7 separate regions of the Homo sapiens genome follow, and all the other regions are linked to region 5. The links are contacts of gene promoters, found by promoter capture Hi-C in human tissues and cell types (Jung and others, 2019). All regions are on one chromosome and are shown on one strand. The core of a region is centred on a gene start or on the middle of the fragment in contact, and the rest is flanking DNA. Distances in the headings are between cores, read along the strand shown.

What was found. The method cuts DNA at HindIII sites, captures the fragments that hold promoters and counts their contacts. A contact is called where the count stands out against the background at its distance.
Region 1: a fragment that was not itself captured here is called in contact with the fragment with the promoter of N4BP2 in region 5 in 1 of the 25 tissues and cell types used here (bladder).
Region 2: a contact is called between a fragment that was not itself captured here and the fragment with the promoter of N4BP2 in region 5, in 2 of the 25 tissues and cell types used here (mesenchymal stem cells and stomach).
Region 3: a fragment that was not itself captured here is called in contact with the fragment with the promoter of N4BP2 in region 5 in 1 of the 25 tissues and cell types used here (hippocampus).
Region 4: a contact is called between a fragment that was not itself captured here and the fragment with the promoter of N4BP2 in region 5, in 1 of the 25 tissues and cell types used here (spleen).
Region 6: a contact is called between the fragment with the promoter of SMIM14 here and the fragment with the promoter of N4BP2 in region 5, in 2 of the 25 tissues and cell types used here (H1 embryonic stem cells and aorta).
Region 7: a fragment that was not itself captured here is called in contact with the fragment with the promoter of N4BP2 in region 5 in 1 of the 25 tissues and cell types used here (lymphoblastoid cells).

Annotation. Positions count from the first base shown.
Region 1 is chr4:40,517,160-40,521,146 of GRCh38, forward strand. The region is part of intron 2 of RBM47 (RNA binding motif protein 47); the gene reads right to left. Among named protein-coding and RNA genes, the nearest start is that of MIR4802, 17 kb to the left of the region's middle. The HindIII fragment of the contact is 4,481 bases long and covers 215-3,987 here.
Region 2 is chr4:40,479,205-40,483,515 of GRCh38, forward strand. The region is part of intron 2 of RBM47 (RNA binding motif protein 47); the gene reads right to left. Among named protein-coding and RNA genes, the nearest start is that of MIR4802, 21 kb to the right of the region's middle. RefSeq lists an enhancer at 3,788-4,311. The HindIII fragment of the contact is 5,969 bases long and covers 1-4,311 here.
Region 3 is chr4:39,671,249-39,675,491 of GRCh38, forward strand. No RefSeq gene overlaps it. Among named protein-coding and RNA genes, the nearest start is that of UBE2K, 25 kb to the right of the region's middle. The HindIII fragment of the contact is 4,059 bases long and covers 1-3,597 here.
Region 4 is chr4:40,394,042-40,398,062 of GRCh38, forward strand. No RefSeq gene overlaps it. Among named protein-coding and RNA genes, the nearest start is that of RBM47-AS1, 30 kb to the right of the region's middle. The HindIII fragment of the contact is 3,608 bases long and covers 866-4,021 here.
Region 5 is chr4:40,055,600-40,059,616 of GRCh38, forward strand. It overlaps N4BP2 (NEDD4 binding protein 2), which reads left to right and starts at 1,251. Exons shown (of 18, transcript NM_018177.6): 1 at 1,251-1,431. It also overlaps the pseudogene LOC344967. RefSeq lists silencers at 463-672, 1,013-1,472, 1,523-1,872 and enhancers at 2,063-2,112, 2,213-2,312. The HindIII fragment of the contact is 26,276 bases long and covers 1-4,017 here.
Region 6 is chr4:39,636,475-39,640,619 of GRCh38, forward strand. SMIM14 (small integral membrane protein 14) reads right to left here and starts at 2,391. Exons shown (of 5, transcript NM_174921.3): 1 at 2,265-2,391. It overlaps SMIM14-DT (SMIM14 divergent transcript), which reads left to right and starts at 2,666. Exons shown (of 6, transcript NR_183845.1): 1 at 2,666-2,820. RefSeq lists an enhancer at 2,333-3,050. The HindIII fragment of the contact is 11,439 bases long and covers 1-4,145 here.
Region 7 is chr4:40,414,890-40,418,946 of GRCh38, forward strand. No RefSeq gene overlaps it. Among named protein-coding and RNA genes, the nearest start is that of RBM47-AS1, 9.2 kb to the right of the region's middle. RefSeq lists an enhancer at 3,696-3,840 and a cis regulatory region at 3,761-3,774. The HindIII fragment of the contact is 9,189 bases long and covers 1-4,057 here.

The sequences.
Region 1 (3,987 bases), core at 1,205-3,704, 460 kb after region 5:
AGTCTCGCCCTCTTGCCCAGGCTGGAGTGCAGTGGCACAATCTCAGCTCACTGCAACCTCCACCTCCCAGATTCAAGAGATTCTCCTGCCCCAGCCTCCTGCGTAGCTGGGATTATAGTCATGCACCACCACACCTGGCTAATTTCTTTGTAGTTTTAGTAGAGACAGGGTTTCACCATGTTGGTCAGGCTGGTCTTGAATTCCTGATCTCAAATGATCCACCCGCTTCGGCCTCCCAAAGTGCTGGGATTACAGGCATAAGCCACTGTGCCCGACCCTCAACTCCTTTCTAGATCACCAGAACACTCACCTCTGCACCCCCTGGCATGGAGTCCAATGCCTTACTGTTCAGAAATATACTTAAATTTTGATAAAAAAAAGTTTGAAGACACAAAATCTGAATCCAAAACAGTGTTTCAAAGGCATATATTCTACGTACAGTCAGCCCTCAGTGTCTGTGGGTTCCGCATCCCTGAAGTCAACCAACCACAGATCAAGAATATTCAAAAATCTCATGTACCCCATAAATATATATACTACTATGTGCCCACAAAAAATTAAAAATGTAAAAATGTGAAAAGGACGGCTGTGTCTGTACTAAACACATAGACTTCTTTTTCTTGTCATTATTCCCTAAACAATACAGCATAACAACTACTTACTAGCATTTCCATTGGATTAGGTATTCTAAGTCATCTAGAGATGACTCAAAGTATATGGGAAGATATGTGTAGGTCATATGCAAATACTGCACCATTTTATATAGAGGACTCGAGCATCCAAAATCTGGGGGGCCTGCAACCAATTCCCCATGGATACAGAAGGATCACTATATAAACAAATGCCAGAATTTGGGGTTTTAAGGTAGTTGCTTTGCTTTTATTTATTTATTTATTTTGTATTTCAATGAGGATGAGAAAATGGGATTATGAAGTCCAGATAGCCAATAAGATAGCCATCAAATCACACCACAAAACAAGCATTGTTTCTTTTCTTTTCTTTTTTTTTTTTTTTTTTTTTTTTTTTTGAGATGAAGTCTCACTCTGTCACCCATGTTGGAGTGCAGTGGTGCCATCATGGCATCATGGCTCACTGTAATCTCCACCTCCCGGGTTCAAGCAATTCTCCTGCCTCAGCCTCCTGAGTAGCTGGGACTACAGGCACACACCACCACACCCGGCTAATTTTGCTATTTTTTTAGAGATGGGGTTTCACCGTGTTGGTCAGGCTGGTCTCGAACTCCTGAGCTCAAGTGATCCACCTGCCTCGGCCTCCCAAAGTGCTGGGACTACAGGCGTGAGCAACCACGCCCAGCTGCAAACATTGCATCTCAAGTGCCTACAATAATCAAGTATTTGATATATGACACCTCATTTAATTAAACAGACAGATGAGAGGACAGACTCAGAGAGGCTGCCCAAGGATACACAGCTAATAATGACAGATCTGAGAACCTCAGCGGGTCCCAGTTGGAGCCCTTCTCTTTGCCTGAGTCACACTCTCATGCACATGCACACTGTAGCCTACACACCCTACTGCCCAATCAGGGGTGTCCAATCTTTTGGCTTCCCTGGGTCACACTGGAAGAAGAATTGTCTTGGGCCACACATAAAATACACTGATACTAATGATAGCTTATGAGCTTTAAAAAAAAAAAAATCCCAAAGGAAGCTTATGAATTTGTGTTGGGCCACATTCAAAGCCATCCTGGACATGCCACAGGTTGGACAAGCCTGGTCTAAATCAAGATCCAGCCCAGGAGTGGTGGCTCACACCGGTAGTCCCAGCACTCTGGGAGTCCCAGGCAGGAGGATCACTTGAGCCCAGAGTTTAAGACCAGCCTAGGCAACATAGTGAGACCCTTGTTTCTATAAAAAAAAAAATATAAAAAATGATCCAGGCATGGTGGCATGCGCCTGTGGTCCAAGCTACTTGGGAGGCTGAGGTGGGAGGATTGCTTGGGCCGGGACTCCTCACTGTAGTTGAGGCTACAGTGAGCCAAGATCACACCACTGTACTCTGCCCTGGGTAACAGAGTGAGATCTTGTCCTTAAAAAAAATAAAAAATAAAAATCACTTGCATGTATTTTCTGCCAACCTCTGACCAGAACCAGTTCAACTGTTTTTCTCCTTCAATCTTTTTTTTTTTTTTTTTGAGATGGAGTTTCACTCTTGTTGCCCAGGCTGGAGTGCAATGGAACGATCTTGGCTCACTGCAATCTCTGCCTCCCGGGTTCAAGCGAATCTCCTGCCTCAGCCTCCAGAGTAGCTGGGATTACAGGTGTGCACCACCACACCCGGCTAATTTTGTATTTTTAGTAGAGATGGGGTTTCTGCATGTTGGTCAGGCTGGTCTCGAACTCCCAACCTCAGGTGATCTGCCCACCTCGGCCTCCCAAAGTGCTGAGATTACAGGTGTGAGCCACCACACCCAGCATCCTTCAATCCTTTACCTTGGTCTCCTCACCCTCCTCTCCCACTTCCCTCTACCCTACCCTCCTTTTTTTTTTTTTTTTTTTTTTTTTTTGAGACGGAGTCTCGCTATTGTTGCCCAGGCTGGAGTATAGTGGCTCAATCTTGGCTCACTGCAACCTCCATCTCCCAGGTTCAAGCAATTCTCCTGCCTAAGCCTCCCGAGTAGATGGGACAACAGGCGCCCGCCACCATGCCCAGCTAATTTTTGTATTTTTAGTAGAGACGGGGTTTCACCATGTTGGCCAGGATGGTCTCGATCTCTTGACTTCATGATCCACCTGCCTTGGCCTCCCAAAGTGCTGGGATTACAGGCATAAGCCACCGTGCCCAGCCCACCCTACCCTCTTATCCCTAATTAAGATCATCTCTACTGCTCACTTTGAAATCTACTGATGAACTCTATTTCATATTGAAGCCCTCCTTTGACCATAAAATCCAACCAAAAAATATGGCTTCTCCCACTTTGGGTAAGCCTTTTATGTTCTTTTTTTTCTGTGATCACAAATTTGTCATTTGACTTTAAACCCTGTAGGTTGTATTAGAATTCCCCGTGTTCTATACGGCACTTGGCACATAAAAGTCTCATGCTGCTCAGAGACTAAATTATGTGTCCCTGAGAAAGGACTGTGCCTTCTGTGCAATAGAAATGTTTTATAATAGCATTTTCCACCTCCAGCCATGTGATTCTAAGTGGAGTTTTTTCTCTATTGGTTTTGGTATGCCAGCATGCAGGTATACCCCTAGAATTTTCAACTGCAGAGCTGCAATAGGGCAGAATAATGTGTCTCTGGGGAGTGCTGCTCTATCGCCCCAGGCCTATTCCAAAGCATCTTTCAGCTGTAGGGGCCCATGTCTAGCCTGAATATCTTTGAGGCTAGTATATATTTGGCCTGCAGAATAGTTTCAGCTTCTGAAAGGGGTTTTGAGCTCCCTTGGACACTAGGAAATAGTAGAGGAGAAAGGAGAGGTAGAGATTTAATCTGGAGCTTCTAAATCTTCCGGAATCTTCCAAAGGTTTAGGAATGCCCATGAATCATACTCAAACCCCTTTAGAGGACTTCAAAGAGTACCATGAATGTGACCTCAGAAACTGCTCATCACCTAGCCAACCTCAACAGATGTGTAAGAAAGGGCCCAGGGGCTCTTGGTGCTTTCCCAAACTGCCCAAGGAAGGAGGGGCTGCAATAGGAGAGGGGAGATCAGTCTACACTGTCCGGTGCTGCCTATCATGGGGACATCAACCGCTAGACCAGCAGTTCTCAAAGTGAGGTCCCTGGAATGCTGAGAGGCTCCACGGTTCTTAAAAATACTAACATATTTCCCTTTTACACGGCATTGACACGGACTAGTGATAAAAAGGCAATGGTGGCTAAAACTTCTAGCCGTGTGAGAGGCAGTGCCACCAAAGTATACTAGTAATTGTGGCATTTTTTTACCACCAGGCATTTGAAGTTGTTCTACCTTTTTTTAAAGCCAATTTTCCTTAAGAATGTATTTGGTAACACAGTATTA
Region 2 (4,311 bases), core at 150-2,649, 420 kb after region 5:
AACAGTCACAGAGAAGGAAGAATTAAACAATGGACATTGTCATATCTGAAATGAGTGTTCCTTATCTGGACATTAGGAAGGATCTGTGGGCTGTCCTTTTAAAATTTAAAATGGTAGGCTGGATACAGTGGCTCATGCCTATAATCCCAGCACTTTGGGAGGCCAGGACAGGAGGATTGCTTGAGCCCAGGAGTTCAGGACCAGCCTGGGGAACATAGTGAGACCCCATCTCTACAAATAATAAAAAAATTAGCAGGGCATGGTGACATATGCCTGTGGTCCCAGCTACTCGGGAAAATTGCTTGTTTGAGCCTGGGAGGTTGAGGCTGCAGTGAGCCATGACTGCATCACTGCATTCCAGACTGGATGACAGAGTGAGATCCTGTCTCAAAAATAAATAAATAAATAAATAAATATATAAATATAAATAAAATGGTACCTTCTCAATTGGCATCCTTGGTTTATTTACTCATTTTTGTTTTGTGATAGAGTCTAGCTATGTTGCTCAGGCTGGTCTAGAACTCCTGGGCTCAAGCGATCCTCCTCCCTCAGCCTCCTAAGTAGCTGGGACTACAGCTGCACCATTGTGCCCAGAGGTACAACTGTTTTAAAGATTAAAATTATTCATCACATCCACCTGTAATAAAATAACTATAGCTAACTCCTACATACAGCCCTTGTCCTTCACCAGGCACTGTTCTAAGTGTTTCGCATATATTAACACAGGCAACCCCCATACATAGGTTGAGGCAGGTACTAGTATCATCTCCATTTTTTTTTTTTTTTTTTTGAGACGGAGTCTTATTCTTGTTGCCCAGGCTGGAATGCAATTCTGTGATCTCAGCTCACTGCGACCTCCACCTCTCAGGTTCAAGTGATTCTCCTGCCTCAGCCTCCTGAGTAGCTGGGATTACAGGTGTCCGCCACCATGCCTGACTAATTTTTGTATTTTCAGTAGAAACAGGGTTTCACTACGTTGGTCAGGCTGGTCTCGAACTCCTGACCTCAGGTGATCCATCTGCCTCGGCCTCCCAAAGTGTTAGGATTACAGCCGTGAGCCACGCGCTCAGCCTCATCTCCATTTTATAGATGAGAAAACAAGAAATAAAGTAATTGGTCCAAGACCAACAGCCAGCAAATAAGTAGTGGAGTGAGGATTCAAACCCAGGCATTCTGGCTCTTAGAGATCACACTTTACCGCCTCAAGCTAAGTAGATAATCTTCTTTCTTTCCTCCTAATTAGCTACCTCTCTACCTACCTACCCATGTTTCACCTTGCTGCTCTGTCAGCCTGCCAGGGACAGGAACTTCTGTACTAACCCAGAAAAACTTTGGAACTTTGAGATGGCATCTTTGGAGCTAAGTAGGAAACCCTTTAATGTTCAATGAATGAAACCATAAGTTAAGAAAGCCACAAAATCTAATTTGAATCTAAAGAGAATTCTCTTTGCATTTTCTCTCTAAGCCCTTCCTCTACCCGAGGCAGCACTCTTCATTAATTCTTAGAAACCTGCTAGATTTTATGGCGATCCCTTTCTGTCTGTCCCTCTAACACAGCAAAATGTAGCATCTGATAAGCTAAGTAATTATTAGTATTTACCTAATAGATTCTGTGGTAGTTTTAACAGACTTCTTAATCTTAAAAAGAGAAAGTTCAGAATACATATTGAATGCTGGTGGAGAGAAGACACCTATTACCAAGTCACATATCATGTGTAACATTATAGCCCTTTCTTCCACTTGTGCTAAGGAAAAGCCAGCTACATTGTCATAATATGAAAAGTAGATATATTTCCTCCTGAGCCAGGAGGAACAAGGCAGTCAGGTTAACAAGGGCTCAGGAAGTGTGTGGTTTTGCCAAGTATTTTGTGAGTTTTACTCTTTAATAATCAAATGATATTTTAATAATTTCCTCAAAATTGCCACAAAAATCCCCTAACATTCTGGATTTATCAAGTACTATGCTCTTCCATTTCAACTGGTGTTTAAGTAGCACTTTCTATAATATCCCGAGATGTACTCAAGCCCTGGGGAAGTGCAGTCAAAGACCTGGATCATATGTTGTTTCTTTCTTTTTTTTTTTTTTGAGATGGAGTCTCACTCTGTCACCCAGGCTGGAGTGCAGCGGCGTGACCTTGGCTCACTGTAACATCTGCCTCCCAGGTTCAAGCAATTCTCCTGCCTCAGCCTCCAGAGTAGCTGGGACTACAGGTGAATGTCACCATTCCCTGCTAATTTTTGTATTATTATTATTATTATTATTATTATTATTATTATTATTATTTTTATTTTTATTTTTGAGATGTACTCAAGCCCTGGGGAAGTGCAGTCAAAGACCTGGATCATGATGTGGCTTTTTTTTTTTTTGACGGAGTCTCGCTCTGTTGCCCAGGCTAGAGTGCAGTGGCATGATCTCAGCTCACTGCAACCTCTGCCTCCCAGGTTCAAGCAATTCTCCTGCTTCAGCCTCTAGAGTAACCGGGATTACAGGTGTGCGCCACCATGCCCAGCTAATTTTTATATTTTTGGTAGAGACAGGGTTTTGCCATGTTGGCCAGGCTGGTCTTAAACTCCTGACCTCAAGCGATCCGCCCGCCTTGGTCTTCCAAAGTGTTGGGATTACAGGCGTGAGCCTCCGCATCCAGCCTTTTTGTATTTTTAATAGAGATGGAGTTTCGCCATGTTGGCCACGCTGGTCTCGAACTCCTGACCTCAGGCGATCCACCGGCCTCAACCTCCCAAAGTACTTGTGATTACAGGCATGTGCCACTGCGCCCGGCCATGATGTGGTTTCTATTAAATTACAGGTGTGAGCCACCGTACCTGGCCATGATGTGATTTCTATTAACTGGGAGCTAATAATCCTCTTGGAGAGATCATTAAATGTCTGATAATTACAACATATAGAATACACAGAAATGGAACAGCATGTGCTATCCAGACAATGGGAGCCACCACAATCAGGTGAAGAGTATTGCTAAGACAGATCAGAGTCCATGGGGAAAGCTTCCTGGAGGAGGTATAACTAGCCTGCATTCCCTTTTTTATCTTATTTTTTTAATTTTTTGAGACAGGGTCTCACTGTGTCACCCAAGCTGGAGCACAGTGGCGCGATCTCAGCTCACTACAACCTCCGCCTCCCCGGTTCAAGCCATTTTCCCACCTCAGCCTCCCAAGTAGCTGGGACTACATGTTCATGCTACCACACCCGGCTAATTTTTGTATTTTTAGTAGAGGTGGGGTTTCACCATGTTGGCCAGGCTCGTCTTGAACTCCTGACCTCAGGTAATCCACCTGCCTCTGCTTTCCAAAGTGCCGGGATTACAGGTGTAAGCACCTGGCCTAGCCTGCATTCTTATTTACAATTGCATCAGGTTACAAACAGAGGCAATCACAAAATCCTACACTTCAAAATATGTATTCTCTGTATTTGTTTACTTTGTGATTTAAAAAGTAAAACACCTCTTTCCTGAAGAATGTTCCTTATTTCAAGAATTGAGTATTCCTAAAATTGGAATAAACCTTAGACATATTTTATAATCAGCCAAGAAACGGAAATTTTTCAGGAGCTTGATAAGCTAGCAAGTAACTAAATGAGTTATGTGGAGTCTAAAAATCTTTGAAAATTTTTCTTCTTAAGACCTTGTGGTTCAGTTCTTATTTAAGCCTAGTTACCTGTTCAACATATTATTTTACCACTTTGAAAAGGGAGCTCTTATTTTTTGAAAAATAAAAGTAGATATTCTAAAGAAATTTGAAAGCAATATGGAAATAATTGAAATCATTCGAAAAAAATCAAACACTAAAACTTTAGCTGCGATGGATCTATAAATACTGGTTACGCTATTAATGATTACAGGTGAAATTAGAAACACGAGAACATCTTTAAAAGGTCAACTCCAAGGCTGATCAGTTTAGACGGGATGCTAAAATTAGCGAGGAGTATAAGCTCAGGAAAAAGAACAACATAAAATGCTAGTGAAGCAAATCGTTTCGACACAATGAGCCTGATTTTCCATGAGCAAATGGTAACTTGGCAAGGCATTCAATTTTGAATTGGTTGCAAGAGTCACTCAATCGTTCAACAATGGCTATTGATCCTACTATGCGTGGCTTTGTTCTAGACCCCGAAGATTGGATGGTGACAGGCAGAGGAGTCCCTGAAGAACAGAACAACAAGAAAGGGGCGGGGTAGCGGAAGCAGAGGGAGCGAGACAGGCAGGGGTCAGATGGGAGCGTTATAACACCCAGGAGAGGACTTCAAGTTCTCCTTGGCTGATTGGAGGATTCTGAGCAGAGAAGCGCTGTGAT
Region 3 (4,243 bases), core at 318-2,817, 380 kb before region 5:
GTTTGTTGGCCACATAAATGTCTTCTTTGGAGAAGTGTCTGTTCATATCTTTCGCCCACTTTTTGATGGGGTTGTTTGTTTTTTTTCTTATAAATTTGTTTAAGTTCTTTGTAGATTCTGGATATTAGTCCTTTGTCAAATGGATAGATTGCAAAAATTTTCTCCCATTCTGTAGGTTGCCTGTTCACTCTGATGATAGTTTCGTTTGCTCTGCAGAAGCTCTTTAGTTTAATTAGATCCCATTTGTCAATTTTGGCTTGTGTTGCCATTGCTTTGGTGTTTTAGTCATGAAGTCTTTGCCCATGCCTATGTCCTGAATGGTATTGCCTAGGTTTTCTTCTAGGGTTTTTATGGTTTTAGGTCTTATGTTTAAGTCTTTAATCCATCTTGAGTTAATTTTTGTATAAGGTATAAGGAAGGGGTCCAGTTTCAGTTTTCTGCATATGGCTAGCCAGTTTTCCCAACACCATTTATTAAATAGGGAATCCTTTCCCCGTTGCTTGTTTTTGTCAGATTTGTCAAAGATCAGATGGTTGTAGATGTGTGGCATTATTTCTGAGGCCTCTGTTTTGTTCCATTGGTCTATATATCTGTTTTGGTACCAGTACCATGCTGTTTTGGTTACTGTAGCCTTGTAGTAAGTTTGAAGTCAGGTAGCGTGATGCCTCCAGCTTTGTTCTTTTACTTAGGATTATCTTGGCTGTACAGGATCTTTTTTGGTTCCATATGAAATTTAAAGTAGTTTTTTCTAATTCTGTGAAGAAAGTCTATGGTAGCTTGATGCAGATAGTATTGAATCTATAAATTGAGCAGTATGGCCATTTTCACGATATTGATTCTTCCTATCTATGAACATTGACTGTTTTTCCATTTGTTTGTGTCCTCTCTTATTTCCTTGAGCAGTGGTTTGTAGTTCTCCTTGAAGAGGTCCTTCACATCCCTTGTAAGTTGGATTCCTAAGTATTTTATTCTCTTTTTGGCAATTGTGAATGGGAGTTCACTCATGATTTAGCTCTCTATTATTGGTATATAGGAATGCTTGTGATTTTTGCACATTGATTTTGTATCCTGAGACTTTGCTGAAGTTGCTTATCAGCTTAAGGAGATTTTGGGCTGAAACAGTGGGGTTTTCTAAACATACAATCATGTCATCTGCAAACAGGGACAATTTGACTTCCTGTCTTCCTATTTGAATACCCTTTCTTTCTCTCTCTTGCCTGATTGCCCTGGCCAGAACTTCCAATACTATGTTGAATAGTAGTGGTGAGAGAGGGCATCCTTGTCTTGTGCCAGTTATCAAAGGGAATGCTTCCAGCTTTTGCTCATTCCATATGATATTGGCCGTGGGTTTGTCATAAATAGCTCTTATTATTTTGAGATACATTCCATCAATACCTAGTTTATTGAGGGTTTTTAGCATGAAGGGTTGTCGAATTTTTATCAAAGGCCTTTTCTGCATCTATTGAGATAATCCTGTGGTTGTTGTCATTGCTTCTGTTTATGTGATGGATTACTTTTATTGATTTGTGTATGGTGAACCAGACTTGTATCCCAGGGATGAAACCGACTTGATCATGGTGGATAAGCTTTTTGATGTGCTGCTGGATTTGGTTTGCCAGTATTTTATTGAGGATTTTCACATCAATGTTCTTCAGAGATATTGGCCTGAAATTTTCTTTTTTTGTTGTGTCTTTGTCAGGTTTTGGTATCAGGATGATGCTGGCCTCATAAGATGAGTTAGGGAAGAGTCCCTGTTTATCTATTGTTTGGAATAGTTTCACAAGGAACAGTACCAGCTTCTCTTTGTACCTCTGGTAGAATTTGGCTGTGAATCCATCTGGTCCTGGACTTTTTTTGGTTGGTAGGATACTTATTACTGCCTCAATTTCAGAACTTGTTTTTGCAGTGGCTGGTACCGGTTTTTCCTTTCCATATTTAGTGCTTCCTTCAGGAGCTCTTGTAAGGCAGGCCTGCTGGTGACAAAACCTCTCAGCATTTGCCTGTCTGTAATGGATTTTATTTCTCCTTTGCTTATGAGGCTTAGTTTGGCTGGATGTTAAATTCTGGGTTGAAAATAACTTTCTTTAAGAATGTTGAATATTGGCCCCTACTCTCTTCTGGCTTGTAGGGTTTCTGCAGAGAGATCTGCTGTTAGTCTGATGGGCTTCCCTTTGTGGGTAGCCTGAACTTTCTGGCTGCCCTCAACATTTTTTCCTTCATTTCAACCTTGGTGAATCTGATGATTATGTGTCTTGGGGTTGCTTTTCTCAAGGAGTATCTTTGTGGCGTTCTCTGTATTTCCTGAATTTGAATGTTGGCCTGTTTTGCTAGGTTGGGGAAGTTCTCCTGGATGATATCCTGAAGAGTCTTTTCCAACTTGGTTCCATTCTCCCTGTCACTTTCAGGTACACCAATCAAACGTAGGTGTGGTCTTTTCACATAGTCCCCTATTTCTTAGAGGTTTTGTTCATTCCTTTTCATTCTTTTTTCTCTGATCTTGTCTTCACACTTTATTTCATTAAGTTGATCTTCAGTCTCTGATTATCCTTTCTTCCACTTAATCAGTTCAGCTATTGATACTCATGTATGCTTCACGAAGTTCTCGTGCTGTGTTTTTCAGCTCCATCAGGTCATTTATGTTCTTCTCTAAACTGGTTATTCTAGTTAGCAATTCCTCTAACCTTTTTCCAAGGTTCTTAGCTTCCTTGCATTGGGTTAGAACATGCTCCTTTAGCTCAGAGGAGTTTGTTATTACCCACCTTCTGAAGCCTACTTCTGTCAATTAGTCAAACTCATTCCCTGTCCAGTTTTATACCCTTGCTGGTGAGGACTTGTGATCCTTTGGAGGAGAAGGGGCGTTCTGGTTTTTGGAATTTTTAGCCTTTTTGCACTGGTGTTTCCTCGTCTTCGTGAATTTATCTACATTTGGTCTTTGATGTTGGTGACCTTTGATGGGGTTTCTGTGTGGACAACATCCTTTTAGTTGATGTTGATGCTATTCCTTTCTGTTTGTTAGTTTTCCTTCTAACAGTCAGGCCCTTCTGCTGTAGGCCTGCTGGAGTTTGCTGGAAGTCCACTCCAGACCCTGTTTGCCTGGGTGTCACCAGTGGAGGCTGCAGAACAGCAAAGATTGCTGCCTGTTCCTTCCTCTGGAAGCTTCATCCCAGAGGGGCACCCGCCAGATGATGCCTAGCTAATTTTTTTCAAGTTTTTGGAGAGATGGACTCTCCCTATATTGCCCAGGCTGGTCTTGAACTCCTGGCCTCAAGGGGTCCTTCTGCCTGAGCTTCTCAAATTGTTGGGATTACAGATATGAGCCACTGGACCTGGCCAGGACTAAATTATTTCTGAAAAAAACTTCTGGCCATGAAATTATATTTCAATTATTTAATTCAAAGCCACTAGTTATTTTAAGCAATTTAGCTTAGCAGATTAACTGATTGCCATTTTAGATAATGGATACATTAGTGGTTGTAAATGGTATAAATCCAATTCAAATTATTGCAGGCAAAACAGGATTCTATAGGCTCTTAGAATTCAAGAAATGGTTAAGCAGTGAAACAGTGGGAAGGACAGAGATTCAGCTGAGCCTTGGGAACCCTGATATTCACACTAAGATAGTAAGGTTTAAAAGTAAGATTTGACGGCCAGGCGCGGTGGCTCACGCCTGTAATCCCAGCACTTTGGGAGGCGGAGGCGGGCGGATCATGAGGTCAGGAGATCGAGACCATCCTGGATAACATGGTGAAACCCCGTCTCTACTAAAAATACAAAAAAATAGTCGGGCGTGGTGGCGGGCGCCTGTAGTCCCAGCTACTCGGGAGGCTGAGGCAGGAGAATGGCATGAACCCAGGAGGCGGAGCTTGCAGTGAGCCGAGATCCTGCCACTGCACTCCAGTCTCTGGGCGACAGAGCGAGACTCCGTCTCAAAAAAAAAAAAAAAAAAGTAAGATTTGAAATTGGTTACTTGATTTGGATGTGAAAGCCAGCCTTGGCCGATGAATTACAGAAAGCAGAAGGGAGAGGAGCAAGAACTAAGCTTTGCTGAATGTCTACTATGTGTCAGGTTCTGTGTTAAATTATTTCAAGAAATCTATCTATTTTAATCCTTACCAAAAAGTATAGAAACTGAAGTTTAGAGTGTTTTAAGAAACTTGCGTAAAGTCAAGTGGTAGGGCCGGATGCAGTGGCTCATGCCTGTAATCCCAGCACTTTGGGAGGCCGAGGCAGGTGGATCACTTGA
Region 4 (4,021 bases), core at 1,420-3,919, 340 kb after region 5:
CTGTAATCCCAGCTCTTTGGAAGGCCAAGGCAGATGGATCACCCGAGCTCAGGAGTTCAAAACCAGTCTGGCCAACATGGTGAAACCGCGTCTCTACTAAAAATACCACAGTTAGGCGGGTGTGGTGGTGGGTGTCTGTAATCCCAGCTACTCAGGAGGCTGAGGCAGAAGAATTGCTTGAACCCAGGAGGCAGAGGTTGCAGTGAACTGAGATCACACCATTGCAGTCCAGCCTGGGCGACAAGAGTGAGACTCCGTCCCCCCACCCGCCCCCCCAAAAAAAGAAAAAGAAAAAGAAAATAGGAACCCAGAAGAAGATCAAAGGGTATTTCCTCAGACTGACCATGTGTACTTCCCTTCTTCCTCTGTATACATCAGCAGAGGAAAGCAGGGAGAGAGAACGGCTGTCAGACTTTCTCAGCGTGGCTCACAAATCCCAGGGTTGCCTTCCTTTTTCCAATCAGGAAACAGCTCTCAAACTCCCTCTCTCTTTCAATCAGTACTTCATTGTTTTTGGAACTATGGAAGCCTCAGTGCCAATTTTATAATCCACGCCAGACTTTTAGCCTCTAATGTCTCTTTTTAAAGGGAACCAAAGCCCCTTTTCTCCTCGATATTTCAAAGCCCAAGCGAATCCATCTGCTTCCAAGCACTCTGCCACTTGGCTACCTGTGTGATCCTGGTTAAGTTCCTAAACCTCTGACCTGAAACAGGGGTCTGTCCCTAATGGAGAGCAGCAGCAGCAGGACTATGGCCTGTCCTGCCAAATCTCTCTCCCGGCATCATAGGAGGCAAGTAAGACAGGTGGTTTTTCTCTTCTTTCTTTTTTTTTTTTCTGAGTTTCACTCATATTGCCCAGGCTGGAGTGCAATGGCACGATCCCGGCTCACTGCAACCTCCACCTCCCAGATTGAAGCGATTCTCCTGCCTCAGCCTCCCGAGTAGCTGGGATTACAGGCGTGAGCCACCATGCCCGGCTAATTTTTGTATTTTTAGTGGAGACGGGGGTTTCACCATGTTGGCCAGGCTGGTCTCGAACTCCTGACCTCAGGTGATCTGCCCGCCTCAGCCTCCCAGTGTGCTGGGACTATAGGCATGAGCCACCGTGCCTGGTCGACAGGTGGTTTTTCAAATGTGTTTCCCAGCATATGCTCTGTTGGGAATTTTAAAGAAAAATCTTCCATGGTGTGGATTCTTACATCTTCTGCCTTAGTAAGATTCACAATCAAGGTGAGTACTGGCCTCTAAAACTCCTCAGCTTTTCCTGTTACAGGTGAGGAATGGTGCTGGTATCAGCCAGAAATCTGTTGGATGCTGGCCAGCAATGGCAGAGGGGTATTTACTGAAAGGTTGATCACAGAGTAAGTAAGAAGGCATGAGAGGCAGGCTCAGAAGCTAGTAGACACAATGCAGCCAGGATGCTGCCACCATGGCCAACTGTGGCCACCATCCTTGGACACTGATCTTAATGCTTGACCACTTCAGCTGCCACCATGGATTCAATATCACTATGTCTATGACTTTGCATGGTGCAAAGTCCTGGGTGGTGGTCTCCTGAGACCTGTGTGATCTCTTTGGCAGCCATGGACAAGAAGGGCAAGAATTTCTGCCTTTTAGCTTCTGTGCTATGCATGCGCTGGCTAACAAGCAGAAGATGAGGCATCATTACACTGGGTTCCCGAACTTCTGGTTAACTCTTGAGATCCTGGTGCCAGAAGAATACTGTCACTCACAGTGGGAGATTCCTCAAAATTAAGAAGGGGGATTTAGATCCTAGGTAGCAAGGAAAAAAAAATCCCATGATTGTGCCAGAAACTTGGATTGTGCTTACAATCCCCGTGAGTTTTTCCAGTCGAGCCCTCTTGCTTTGCCCTCTCCAGTGTCTCTCCTGTGGGGGTAGGGCCTGTCCAAGTCCCGTCATGCTTCAGTACCTAAGCAGGTGCATTCGCTCCCTTCCTGTGCCTGGAGTCCTGCCATCCATTGCTCAACTCCAATCTCTTGTTGTTTTAACATTTGGCCTTCATCCCCAGGGCTTCTCCTGGCTGCAGTTCTTGGAGTCAAGTTTCCTTTCATGAAGCTGCAGTTTGCCAGCTAAGCCAATCACAGATCTTGGGACTTGGATAGAAATGACCCTCTCCCCACCCCCATTTTCTTGACTCTTCCCTCTAAGGGTCTTCTCTGAAATCCCTAGATATGAAAAGAGTGATACATTGAGGCTAACAGGCCCAGATTTGTTAACTGTGGATGTGGGCAAGTAATCTGACCTTAGGAGCCTCGGATTCCTCCCCTGGGAAGAGAAAGGAAATCTTTTGACTACAAAGATTTCTTGAGCTGCTGAAGCACAGTGATCATGATTCTAACCAGAGTGTCTTTTTTCTAAAACTCTACTTCTTGGGTTCTGGACTTCTCTGGCTCTCCTGCTTCTGATTCTGGTCTGCAGTATTTCTATCCTCTGTCCATTTTGACATATTAGTTAGAAAGCCACAATAAAAATGGAAATTTTCTATTTTTCGCTCTACCCAGAGTCCTCCCACTCGTTATGCATGCATTGCCCTGAATCACTCAGCTTTAGGAGTCTGACTTCTCTGGGGTCACAGGAGCACTGTAGAGGGGCCGGGCTTTCAGCATTTGATCTTACCATACTGTATGGGGGTCAAATGTCCTTGTCATTTGCGCAGTAAAACTCAGATGATCCTGGTTACATTATATTCCTTTTTGACAATATGGACTGCAACTTTAGAATCATATCTTTGCTCCTTGGTTTTACTCTGAAGGAGGAAAAAAGCCATACAAAGCAATCTTTATTTTATTTTATTTATTTATTTATTTATTTATTTTTTGAGACGGAGTCTTGCTCCATTGCCAAGGCTGGAGTGCAGTGGCACGATCTCGGCTCACCGCGACCTCCGCCTCCTGGGTTCAAGCGATTCTCCTGCCTCAGCGTCCTGAGTAGCTGGGACTACAGGCGCCCACCACCACGCTTGGCTAATTTTTTGTATTTTTAGTAGAGATGGGGTTTCACCGTGTTAGCCAGATGGTCTCGATCTCCGGACCTCGTGATCCGCCCGCCTCGGGCTCCCAAAGTGCCTAGCTATTTTTTTGTATTTTTAGTAGAGACGGGGTTTTACCATGTTGGCCAGGCTGGTCTCAAACTCCTGACCTCAAGTGATCCGCCCTTCTCGGCCTCCCAAAGTGCTGGAATTATAGGCATGAGACCCCACGCCCGGCCTGATCTTTTGTTTATTTTATATACCAGAGGATCTTCTTGCAGGCTTTCCCACTCTGCCTTCCCTGTACTATTTCTTTTCTTTCCTTTTCTTTTCTCTTCTTTTTTTTTTTTTTTTTTTTGATATGGCATCTTACTCTGTCATCCAGGTTGGAGTGCAGTGGCACCATCTTGGCTACTGCAACCTCTGCCTTCCAGGCTCAAGTGATCTCCTACCTCGGTCTCCTGAGTAGCTGGGACTACAGGCGCAGGCCACTATGCCTGGATTTTTTTTTTTTTTTTTTTTTTTGTACTTTTGGTAGAGATGAAGTTTCACTGTGTTGCCCAGGCTGATCTTGAACTCCTAAGCTCAGGTGATTCACCTTCCTCGGCCTCCCAAAGTGCTGGGATTATGGGTGTGAGCCACTGCCTGGCAAACCTATACTATTTTTTTGGGGTTTTATTTTTTAAGTATGAATTTTAGAGTTATCCAATTTTTTTTTCTTTTTTTTGAGACAAGGTCTCACTTTGTTGCCCAGGTCAGAGTACAGTGGCACAATCATGGCTCACTGCAGCTTCGACTTCCTGGGCTCAAGCGATCCTTCCACATCAGCCTCCCGAGTCCCTGGGACTACAGGCACACACATCCACATCTGGGCTAATTTTTGTATTTTTGGTAGAGAGGGCATCTCGCCACGTTGCCCAGGCTGGACTCGAACTCCTGGGCTCAAGTGATCCTCCGCCTTCCAAAATGCTGGGATTACAGGTGTGAGCCATGGTGCCAGGCCTCTTTTGGGTTTTCCTTAAAAATGATGG
Region 5 (4,017 bases), core at 1-2,500:
CACTTTGTCATGAGGTTATTTCGCTTCTCTATTCTGGGAAAAACCACTGCAAGTGGAATGAAAAGTAACCGCAAAGGGAGGGGACGGAGGAAGTAAAAAACAGGCAAAACCACCACCACTACCATCACCACCACCACCACCAACCAGAAAGCAAAGGTGAAAAATTTGCGTACCCTGAAAACACTAAACATTTCACATCAGAACCCAGAACAAATAAACCAGGGAAAGCAGAGTTGAGAGAAAAAAAATGGTGCAGGCTTGGGGACGGACTCATACTACAGCGGTCGCAAGAGGGAAGAGCACGTCTTTGCTTTTTCTTGGCATCCGAAAACTCAAGCTCGAACTGGGGGCAAAGGCCAGCGGCTGCGGTTCCACCGGCTAAGGCGCACACATTCCCCGAGCTCAGACCGCACGCTGGCAGGGCCGATGGGGCTGGGCAGCCTCCCTCCACCCCGTGGCAGTCGCCTACCCCTTTGTCTCCCCGTGGGGCTCCGAGGCCGCGCGCCCGGAAGCCCCCCGCGGGAGGGCCGCGCGCGAGAAGGCGGGTTCCCGTGCCCGCCGCAGCGGCCACGGCCCTAGTCAGGCAATGCCGAGGCCGGTCGCTCGCCTCGCCGTCCCTCCCAACTTGCAGCCTGGACCCCGCGCGCGTCAGGGCTCGTCCCAGCTCTGCTTTCCTTTCTCCCCTCACCTCGCGAGGCCGACCTTGTGTTTGTTTTGTTTTTTGGGGCTCGGGAGAGTGCCGAGGGCTAGAAACAGCTGTGGTTTACCGCGCCGCTTATTTTGGCAAAAATTCCGGGCCTGTTGCAATGTTCCCCAGCGCCAAACAGCTCCCGCCTTCCCCCCAAGCAGAACCCGACACTCGAAGAAGGGCTTGCTCCTCCAGGGACCCCCTGATAAGAAAAGTGGGGACCACGGCCCGCTCTCGGGCGAGACTTGGGGGGTGGGCGACCGGAAGCAGCCGAACCGGCCGGGCAGGGCTTGCTCTCCAACGGGAGAGCGGGAGCGGGAGAGGTGGGAGCGCCCGCGGGCTCAAGTCCCCCGGGCCGCCGCGCCGAGGCGGAGCTCGGGGACGAAGCAGAGGTCGTGGCGGACAGCCGGCGGGCTTGGGGGGGGGCGGTGGGCGGCGATCCACCTGGGCGACGTGGCAGCCATTGCCGGCGCCTCGAGACCCCTCCCCACCCGGCCGCCCACCCGCCCTCTCGCGGCGGGCTTCTGCGCGGCTGCTCTTCCCCGGCCGGACGGAGAGCGGCAGTGTCTCCCCGCCGGGCGCGCTCGCCGTGTCTCCCCCGCGGCCGCAGCTGCTTGCTAGCCTTGCGCGGCGCGGGAGAGCGCAGTGGCGCCGGCGGGAAAGGGCTGCGGACCTGCGGCGCCGCGTTGTGCGTTCGACGACGCGGCACCGGCTTCGACGCCCTCTGCCCGCTCCAGAAGCAGGTAAAGGCGGCGGGTGGGAGGCAGGGAGGCGGGTCCAAGGTGAGGGCCCTGGAGGTTAGGGGTCCCGGGGCTCCGAGCCGAAGCGGAGGGCCTGAAGCAGCGGCGGGCGGCGCGGCGAATGAACCCCCAAGCCCTGAATGTGGGGCCCGGCGCGGGCCGCCTCCGATCTGACCCGCGGGCCCGGCTGCCCGGACGGAAGGGAAGTGAGGCGTCGGCGAGAGGCGGGCCCTGGCGCTCAGCCCGAGGCCGGGCGAAGGCGGGGGCCGCGGCCGCTTCCTTGGCCTCCGAGTGCCTGGCGGGCCTCCAGGCCCCAGACACACCCCTCTCGACCCCCCGAGGTTTCCTCCCAGATCTGTTCCCGCCGGGACCTGACCTTGCGCCCCTCCAGGCGCCTTAGGTGTTTGCCAGGCGGAGCCTTCTGGGAACTTCAGGCCACCTTCCTGAGCACATAGTCCTAGCAGAGCCGTTTATTTACTCAGTTCAAGTCCAGACACACAGCCACTCACACGTTCGGATTTTGGAGACTGCGGGGAGACTTTCCCCTCCCCGGCATTTGTGTGTCTTTGGCCCTCGTCCCGCCTCCCCTGCCCCCATCTGCAACTTTGTCCCTCAATGGGACCCTTCTAGAGCCCCTCTCTCATCGGGACTCTCTCTAAGCCGTCCGTTTGGAAATTCATCCTCAATAGAGTGAGTCATCTTAGCGGGGGCACAGTTTATCTCTCATGCGCTTTTGGTTAAAATAGTTTTTTTTTTCCCTCCGAAAGAGAGCTAGAGTAATAGAATGTAGATGACAGGTCAGTGTCAGTGTTGGCTTCAAAGGCTCTTCCTTTCGGCGGCAGTCTTTGTAACTAGGATCTGATATTTGTGGCACGGACAGGTTTGTACACATTCTCGCCATGCAGTGGTTGTAATGTCTCCATGGCACAGTTCTGGCTTGAAGGCAGGATTGGCTGCTTTTTCTACTCGACATCTTTGAGCCAATCAGCAAGGGCTGCTTGCCTGGAGACTGGTTAACTCAGTAAAGGTGGCCATTGGTTGAGCTCCTAGAAGAAAATCCTGGAGATGAACCTAGCCTCTCAGAAAACAATGACTGATTTGCAGCTGTATTAAAAAAATGTTTTCTTTTAATCCCAACATCAGCCTTTTCACTCCGTTTTTATTACTTCCAGTGTTTTTCTTTCAAACACCAGCTGTCTTTTGTAACTCGTTTTAACTCTCATCCTTTAATTTTAACTAAAAGACGCGCTTTAGGAAATGTAAACATCGTGTGTTCTGTGTTTTGATAAACGTGGTTCCATCTGCCTTTCTAACATTGTTTACTGCTAAAGGTCAGAAATAAACAGTTTTGAGTTTCGCTGCCAGGACCTTTTATTATTTAAGTGCCGTGCTAGGATGGGGGGTAGGAGCGAGGGGCTGTAGTGGTGGACATGGTGGGAAGAATAGGAAATAAATGGCTGCTCTTTTGCAAGGAGGCTACAATTTAGTTAATGAAAAAAGACTAACCTGTAAAACAATAAAGAATAAAGCAGTTGAAATCAGCACGCAGTACGTACGAATGCCAGTTTGTGTACTTGTTGACTTTAGTTAATTTGAAGGGGAGATAGAAGTACTGTATTTCATAGAAAAAGTGGGCTTAAGTTATGGTAGAGGCATGTTTTTTCCTTCATTAAAGTATATTAAAGTAGGCATAGTATCTTGTATGTACACAGTAGAAGCTAAATATTATCACTAGTTGCATGTTTTTTTTTTAGTATTTATTTTAAATCTAAATACTGTTACATAGTTGCATCTTATTTATTTATTTTTTTGAGACAAGGTCTGGCCGTATCGCCAAGGCTGGAGTGCAGTGGCACTATCTCAGCTCACTGCAACGTCTGCCTCCTGGGCTCAAGCCATCCTCCCACCTCGTCCCCTAGAGTAGCTGGGACTAGAGGCGAAAGCCACTACGCCCGGCTAATTTTTGTATTTTTTGTAGAGAGGAGGTTTCGCCATGTTGCCCAGGCTGGTCTCAAACCCCTGAGCTCAAGCAATCCAACTGCCTCCGCCTCCCAAAGTGCTGGGATTACAGGAGTGACCACCACGCCCGCCCGGCCGTTTTAAAACGCTGATTATTTTCCTTTTAAAATCTCCCTTTTCATCATGATTAGCCATGATTATGCATGTTTTTTGATATGCAAAGCAGCAACCATTTATTAGTTAATGAATTTCAGAAAAATAGCTATCTACCTTCTTTGCTTTCCTTTCAGCTTTTTATATGCAAAATCATATTGTAAGTCTTGGGAAGAATCAGTTGTCTATTAAATGCCTTTAGAAGTAGTTTATGTTAGGAATTTAAGAAGAGATTGAGCATTTTTTATGTATGTATGTATGTATGTATTTTGAGACAGAGCCTCACTCTGTCGCCCAGGCTGGAGTGCAGTGGCGCTATCTTGTCTCAGCCTCTGGAGTAGCTGGGATTACAGGTGCTCAACACCACACCTGGCTAACTTCTGTATTTTTAGTAGGGATGGGTTTTTGTCATGTTGGTGAGGCTGGTCTGTAACTCCTGGCCTCAAGTGATCCGCCCGCTTTGGCCTCCCAAAGTGC
Region 6 (4,145 bases), core at 1,141-3,640, 420 kb before region 5:
CCATGCTTTTAATAATTATGGTTTGCCAAACATAGAAGTCCCCCATTATCCACAAGGGATACATTCAAAGAAACTCCAGTGGGCTGGACCTGGTGTCTCAGCATCCCTGTAATCCTAGCATTTTGGGAGGCTGAGGCCAGAAGATCACTTGAGCTTAGGAGTTTGAGACCAGCCTGGACAACACAGTGAGATCTCGTCTCTATTAAATTTTAAAATTAAAAAATTATAAAACAACCCCCCCCCAGTGGATGCCTAAAGCCCATATAGTACAGAACCCTATATATGGACTGTTTTTTTCCTATACACACCTACGATAAAATTCAATTTATAAATTAGGCACAGTAAGAGACTGACAATAGTTAATAATAGAACAGTTATAACAATATACTATAATAAAAGTTATGTGAATGTGGTCTCTGAAAATATGATTGTATTTTCAAACTGCGGTTGACCACAGAAACTGAAACTCGGGAAACCCCTGAAAGTGAAACCACGGATAAGGGGGCACTACTGTGTAGTGAATACGCTCTAAAATTTAAGGTCCAAAGTCCATGTCTGAAAAATTTAAATTATTACTCAAAAAAGAAGTACTAGAATGTGAAAAAGCAGGTTATGTACTGAAAAGCATATGTGGTATGATACCATATTTGTATAAAATATATAAATGCAAAAAAGTAGTTTAGAAGGGTATAAACTAACATTTTGGTGATCTTTGGGTGGCAGGATTATTGATTTTTTTTTCCTATCTGCTTTTATCAACATCTTCTCTATTACACAAAGTATTTCGTATAACCAAAAATATTAGTTATAGGCTAGCATAAAAGGTAAAAAGCTGAAAAAGAACTTCAAGAAATCTTTCCTTCTTCTAAATCAGAAGGATTCCAACTACAGTAGTAAGAAAAAATATCTCAACGGCAAACACTGGAGAAAAGATTCGTTAAGGGGTTCATGTTATACCACAAGGACATACCCTTCAAGGAAATAATCTAAACTCATAACTCTTCCTGGGTTTGATAAGGAGCAATTAACTATCACGTACTGTTGTTCTTTCTTGCTGTTAACCACTGAAACACCTCAATTAATGAGTTCTCGGGGGTGAAGCGGTGTTCTTAAACACCACGTTGGAAAAAAAAAAAAAGTTAGGACAAAAAGGTTTGGTTTTCTGGTCGCAGTGCTGTCGACGGCCGCGGAGAGCGGCAAGTTCGGAGCAGGCTACACTAAAGGAATCTGCGCGGCCAGCCACCCTAAGTGGAAGGGAATGCAAAGCCTCCTGCAACCTCCACAGCGCTGGGCAGCAAGAATGCCTCCTAAGCGTCCCAACACTCCAACACCTGGAAGGTCTTACGCTTTCCAAGTTATAATATGTACAGCTGCTGTTTCTGACAATAACACACACAAACTGGAAGGTCTCTTCTGCAAATGTAGCTATTACGTGTGTGAAGCTCATCCGACTCTCTCGATGCAAAAGTAACACATTCTATTAAGGCCACAGCCTCGGTTTTGCCAACTGGGGCAACTGAAAACATCCTACCGACTCTCTACAGCTAGCAAACCATCTCGGCTAAAATCCTGGCACATATAAACAGCCACTTTGGTGAAGTCTGCCTTTAAACAGCAACACGGGACTTCGGGTAGAGCCGGTAACCAGTTTATCACACACTATTAGTTCCAATAAAGGGTGCTGCTACCTCTTTACTGTCAGCCTTGGTTCCACTTACTGAGCAAACAGAAAAAGGGGATCCTTTAAATTCGCGACACAATAGGAGCTAAAAAGCTCTCGCTTTCAGGGTGTCAGCTTTCTCGTCTCACTTATCACAACAAAGGACGCATCCTAGTGACTTCACCGTACCCAGAAAGGGCTGAGGGAGACGGTAAACAAGATAGTGTGGATTTCAGGATTTGTGAGTTTTTCCTTCCAGCTACGACTCTCTTTTTACTCCATGATACGCCTCCACCCGTCGACAATCTGATCCTAAAAATAAAACCACCCGTGGCTACCTTGCCCTTGCCTGCAAAGCCCCGACTCTGACATCCTGCAGAGAATACCCAATTGCAGGCTCTTCGCGGGGGACGCGGGCTCGGCAGCAGCGGAGCTTCTCCCGGTGCAGAATCGCCAGCCCGGCCGAGGAAACGCCAAGCCCGAGAAACAGCCCTGTTCTGCCGCAGCCGCCGCAGTCCCCGAGAGCCTGAGGAGCCCCCAGGAAAAACTGGGGCGAGGGGAGGGTGAGCCAGCAAACGCTGGTGGGAGAGGGGGAGACACTCACCCGCCCAGACAACAACCGATGGGGCGGGGAGGATGGGGGCCGGGACCGAGGCTCGGCAGAAAGACCGCCTGGAGCTTCCAGAAGGCTGCGGCTGCTCCGGACGCTGCTGCCACTGCCGTTTCTGGCCGCCGGCTTCCTCCCCCTCCTCTGTTTTGATTCGAGTGACCACGTCACTCTTAGCCACAAGACCCGGATCTGCCGGCTCCCGCGGGCGGCGGCGCAACAGATTGCAGCGCCTGGAGACTCCAGCTGCCCCGCCTGCCGAGCATGCGCATGCCCAGCGCCTGCCCTGTGCGTCCCGGGAAGCCGGGCGGGAGCCTGCGGCTTCGGACGCCTACGACACGCTGTGCGTGGGGGCGCGGAGTGCGGGGGATGTAGTTCCGGTTGGGAGGGGCGTGGCTGAGGACTGTGAAGCAATCGGGGCGAGGCCGGGTGTCTGTTCAACTCTCCCGCGTATCGTCTGTTTCTTCGGCGGCGGACAGTGTTCTGTAATGTGTCTCCCGTTGCCCGAGCTAAAGGTTTTCCTCGACGGAGTCTTTAGAATACCGTGGTAGAGGTAGACGCGGTTACAAATTGATGTCTGTTGAGACAGTCTACCCCTGTAAAGTGTTTTTGGTTACTCAGGCCCGGATGGAAATTGGAGATGGGGATTACAAAAATACATCAAATGTGGCTGTTATTGATTCCCTTTACCTTAACATTTTTGCACCGGAAACGACCAAAATTAAGTTCAACAGGAATATTAATAAAAGGAATATGTAGTCGGGCTTGGTGACTCATGCCTGTAATCCCAGCACTTCAGGAGGCAGAGGTGGGCGGATCACTTGAGGTCAGGAGTCCGAGACCAGCCTGGCCGACATGGTGAAACCCCATCTCCACTAAAAACACAAAAATTAGCCGGGCATGGTGGTGCCCGCTTGTAGTCCCAGCTACTCGGGAGGCTGAGGTGGAAGAATCGCTTGAACCCGGGAGGCGGAGGTTGCAGTGAGCCGAGATCGCGCCACTGCACTCCAGCCTGGGTGATAGTGAGACTTTGTCTCAAACTAAATAATTAAAGATATGTGACCAAAGATGACTTGCTGGTCAGGAGATAATGGGGAAGTAGGAGGGAATGCTGTGGCTAGGCAGCCAGCCAGCCCAAGTCTTAGTTGCTTTGGTTGTAGAGCTGGAATAAGAGTGCTGCTTTTACCCAATCTTCCTTTTAGAGCAAGTTGGTGCTTCCTATTCTCCCATTCTAGTCTCTGAGTCTCCCCGCTAAATTTTGGGGGCCCTGGAAATTTCCCAATTTGGCAAAATGCAGAACTATATTGTTTTCTTAGGTCCTTCAGTTGGCAAGCTTTAATTAAAATGGGACAAGTGGCGAAGTAAAAGTGAATCCCAAACAAAGATTTTACGAAAGTGCCTCTCTGCCAGTCTTGACGGAGAGGTGAAAGCTGCAAGCTTTCTTACTCAGATTTGATGACCTTTTCACTTACCCAGACTTCCACCTCAGCAATTTGGTTAATTACCCCTCGACAAGCTGAATCACCTTCCCCAAATAAGTATCATTTACAAGAGCTTTTTAATTAAAGTGGATATTGAACACAGGTAAAGGTTTCTAGAAAATTAAAGGTTTCTGGTAAAACTTGAAGTGTTTCCCAGTTAACTAATTGCAAAGTAGATACAAAGAATAAAGATTTTGGCCCTTAATCTGCAACCTTGAACTCTGCTTACTCAAATTCAGAGTTTGAGATGGAATCTGGTGCCCTAATGAGCTGACACTGTACCAAAGGGTCTTTAATTTGTGCAACTCCAAACAAAATCTGTTATGCTTGAGTGCACCCATGGGCACGTATGTGTTTGAGAACACAGCTGTGTTTAAGAGAACAGTATGGTACAAAA
Region 7 (4,057 bases), core at 626-3,125, 360 kb after region 5:
GTGGTCAGGATAGAATGTTACACTGAGTTGCCAACTGGGCACAGCGTGCACCAGCTCCCTCCCCACACACCGTCCAGCAACTCTCTTCAGCCTCATATCACTAGCCTCACCTCCCATTCTAGGCTTTGCTTATTTTATGTTCTTTACAGATCCATTGCTCCCTTTATCAAGATTCCTTCTGCCCTGTCTGAGCCTTCAGAACTCAACTGAGATGTCCCCGATCCAGGAGCAGCTCCCTGAACCCCAAGTCTGGGGTTAAGTATCGCTTCTCTGTGCTACCCAAGCATCAGGATTTATCTCTGTCCTAACACTTCTCCCACTAGTTTATCACGATCTTTTAACTTGTCTGTGTTCTCACTAGACCAGTACCTTCTTGAGGACAGGACTTTTAGTTCTCTATCTTCAATGCCTAGCCCAAGTGTATATATAGTAGGTGCTCAATAAATACTTGATGAATAAGTGGGAGTTTGTTGGGTGGACACTCCTAGAGGGAAGGGAGCTTTTTTTTTTTTTTTTTCGAGATGGAGTCTCACTCTGTCGCCCAGGCTGGAGTGCAGTGGCCAGATCTCAGCTTACTGCAAGTTCTGCCTCCCAGGTTCATGCCATTCTCCTGCCTCAGCTTCCAGAGTAGTTGGGACTGTAGGTGCCCGCCACCACGCCTGGCTAATTTTTTGTATTTTTAGTAGAGACGGGGTTTCACAGTGTTAGCCAGGATGGTCTCGATCTCCTGACCTCATGATCTGCCCGCCTTGGCCTCCCAAAGTGCTGGGATTATAGGCGTGAGCCACCGCGCTCGGCCGGGAAGGGAGCTTTTTAAAGGAACTGCAAATATTAATATTTCGGAATAATGGGAGAGAATGGTAAGCAGGTGAAAGACAAAATCAAAGTTTTCAGTAACCAGGACAGGCACTGGTCAGTCAGAGGAACATGGGCAGTAAGTGACCAAAATGGACATACCAGTGCATAGTGGATATCCGTTCTGCCCATATGCAACTGGCAGGATATAATTCTGAAGACGTGCACAGAGGCCAGTTTATAAAGGGCCTTGTGTGTTTTAAGCTGGACTTGGTACAGTCAGCAGTGGGATACTTCTAAAGATATGTGACATAAGTGACACTCAGATTTGGTTTTAGGAAGATCACTGTGGCCCCAGTGTGGAAGGCAAATGAAAGAGAAGCAAGAGGCCGGGCGCAGTGGCTCGCGCCTGTAATCCCAGCACTTTGGGAGGCTGAGGTGGGTAGATCACGAGGTCAGGAGTCCGAGACCAGCCTGGCCAACACAGTGAAACTCTGTCTCTACTAAAAATGCAAAAAATTAGCCGGCCGTGGTGGCGCAGGCTTATAGTCCCAGCTGCTTGTGAGGCTGAGGCAGGAGAATTGCTGGAACCCGGGAGGCAGATGTTGCAGTGAGCGGAGAGTGTACTGCACTCCAGCCTGGGAGACAAAGCAAGACTGTCTCAAAAAAAAAAAAAAAAAATTGAATTTTGAGTATCATTGTATCTTGAGCAAGTAACTTATCCTTTTTAGGCCTCAATTTCTCCCTTGATAAAATGGAGATCATGTTCACCATTTTGTCTTTAGGCCCCATCACAAAGCCTGGCACATAAATGCTCGAAAAACAAAACATTTGTTAAATGAATGGGAAGGGGAGAATGTCATCTGTAACTATCTTACAGGATTGTCATGAAGATCAGGGAGATAGAGTTTTAGAAAGGCTTCTGTGGCCAGTGAAATGCTATTCAAGGATTAGCTGATTATCCTTGACTGGCATGTCTTTCCAGCATTTTATATCGTATATCTTTTATTTGAGACACTAGTTGTTAAAATTATTCATTGAACTGTCCAGAGGGTCTAATTATTTGGCCCCTCGGCAACTCAGAAGGCTTGGGCTAGCCTCCCTAGATTGGGCTGCTTTTGTGGTACAGTGTCCTGGAGCTGGTGGAGAACCTCCTGACTCTTGAAGTTATTCTCTTTATTTGACTGGCTATGGCCTTAACTTCCAAAGTTAGGGCTTTCTTCCTTAGCTTCGTTGACAAGGGATTTGTTCAATGAAAACCACATAACTCAGGAGGCCAGGCACAGTGTCTCATGCCTGTAATCCCAGCACTTTGGTAGGATGAGATGGGAGGATCGCTTGAGCACAGGAATTCGAGACCATCTTGAGCAACATGGCGAAACCCCATCTCTACAAAAAATACAAAAAATTAGCTGGATGTGGTGGCACATGCCTGTAGTGCCAGCTACTCAGGAGGCTGAGGTGGAAAGATCACCTGAGCCTGGGAAATCGAGGCTGCAGTGAGCAGGGATTGCGCCACTGCACTCCAGCCCGGGTGACAGAGCAAGACCCTGTCTCAAAACAAACAAACAAAAGACAAAAAGCCCCACATAACTCACCTCCTTGGGAATGAATTTGTTTATTTCTTCCCTTTCTGAGAGCAACATTTGATAAAAGACATGCTAGAATGTAAGAGGCTTGGAGGCCACCAGGAAAAAAAAATGTAGAAAGGTGACCCTATAAGACCTTCAGACTCCAGAAAGTTTTGCATCTATATTCTGCAATGTGTGTAATTTTTAAACTTTCCTTTCCACTTGCTCCAATGTCCTTTAAGATAAAGTGACTCTATTAGGAGATCGGTGTGACTTCTAGAACAAACAAATGACTCTACATCCTTACAAAATGGGTGATCTATAATCCCTCCAACCCCAGCCCCAGCTCTAGAGTTAGATATTCCAGGTTCAGATCTACACTGTTTCACTTACCAGCGACGTGGTCTCGGGAGAAGTTATGAAACCTCCTTCTGCCTCCTTGCTTTTTATCTGTAAAATGGGGGTATTAAGAGTAGCAAGCTCAAGTGTGAAAACATGATGCATGCAAAACTAATCTATGCTGTAGATTTGACTGTTTCCCTTGTTGAGGTGGTCACTGGAAAGGGCCATGCAAAACCTTCTGGAATGCTGGTCATGTTACTCCTCTGGATGTTGGTTACATGGATGTGCTCAGTTTGTGAAAATTCATCAAGCTCTCTATGGTATGTACACTACTGTATCTATGTTACTCTTTTAATAAAAAGTTTAAAAAATATCCACGTAAAGTACTTGACCATTGGCATATATGGTAAGTTACTGTCAGCCATTATTCTTATCTCCTGCTGAATGATCATCATCTAAGACTTTAACATTATTCCCAAACACAAGGAAAATGAGGAACCAAAAAAAGACATGCTCGCCGAAGGCAGGCTTGACTGAGCACTCAGTGGCACGGCTGTTTGCACTAAAGCGTTGGGTAATTTCTAAGTAGATTATTTTGGCTGTTGTCTCTTATGCACAAGAGATTCCCTCTATAAATGCTAGAGCACATTTAGAATCAGTTGCATTTCCAGAATTTCTCTCCTTAGGGGAGTGTCTTATTTGGAAAGGGGACATTAGGGGTTTATTGGGAAGCTGAGTCTGCATAGTACTCTATATAAGATTGAGAAAGGGTCAAATGGCCAAATTTGAATGGGGGTGGAGGTGTGAGGGTGGTGAGGTCGACGGAAGTAAAACTATCTCATGGTGCTGTCAGTTTGGAATAAAGGTCGTGAAAAAGGAGCGGAAAAATCCCAGCAAAACCAAACTGGCATGGCCCAGTGTTATCACAATACCATTAAGTGCAAATGTTTTGACCCAGCACACCCCCAGCAAGGTCATCTCAGAAAAAACTGGGCTTCAGTGACATCTCTTAGCTGCCTTAGAATGACTAAGGTTATTTAAACCTCATGGTTGGTTAATCATTAATGAAGATTTTTGACAAACAAAGTAGAACGAGCCAAGAAAGAAGGGTGGCTAAAAATTAGCCTAGGAAAGGTCATATTTCTTGCATATGCAGGGATTAGTGTTGCTTTTGTTTCTGGTAACTGTGCAGAATGGAGTTTCAAGGAAATATGATCCTGTTGGGGAAGCCAATGTGTCTCTGAAGATTTTACTTAGGATTCTCCTCCACTGTATTAGTCCATTCTCATGCTACTAATAGAGACATATGCGTGACTGGGTAATTTATAAAGGAAAGAGATTCAATGGAC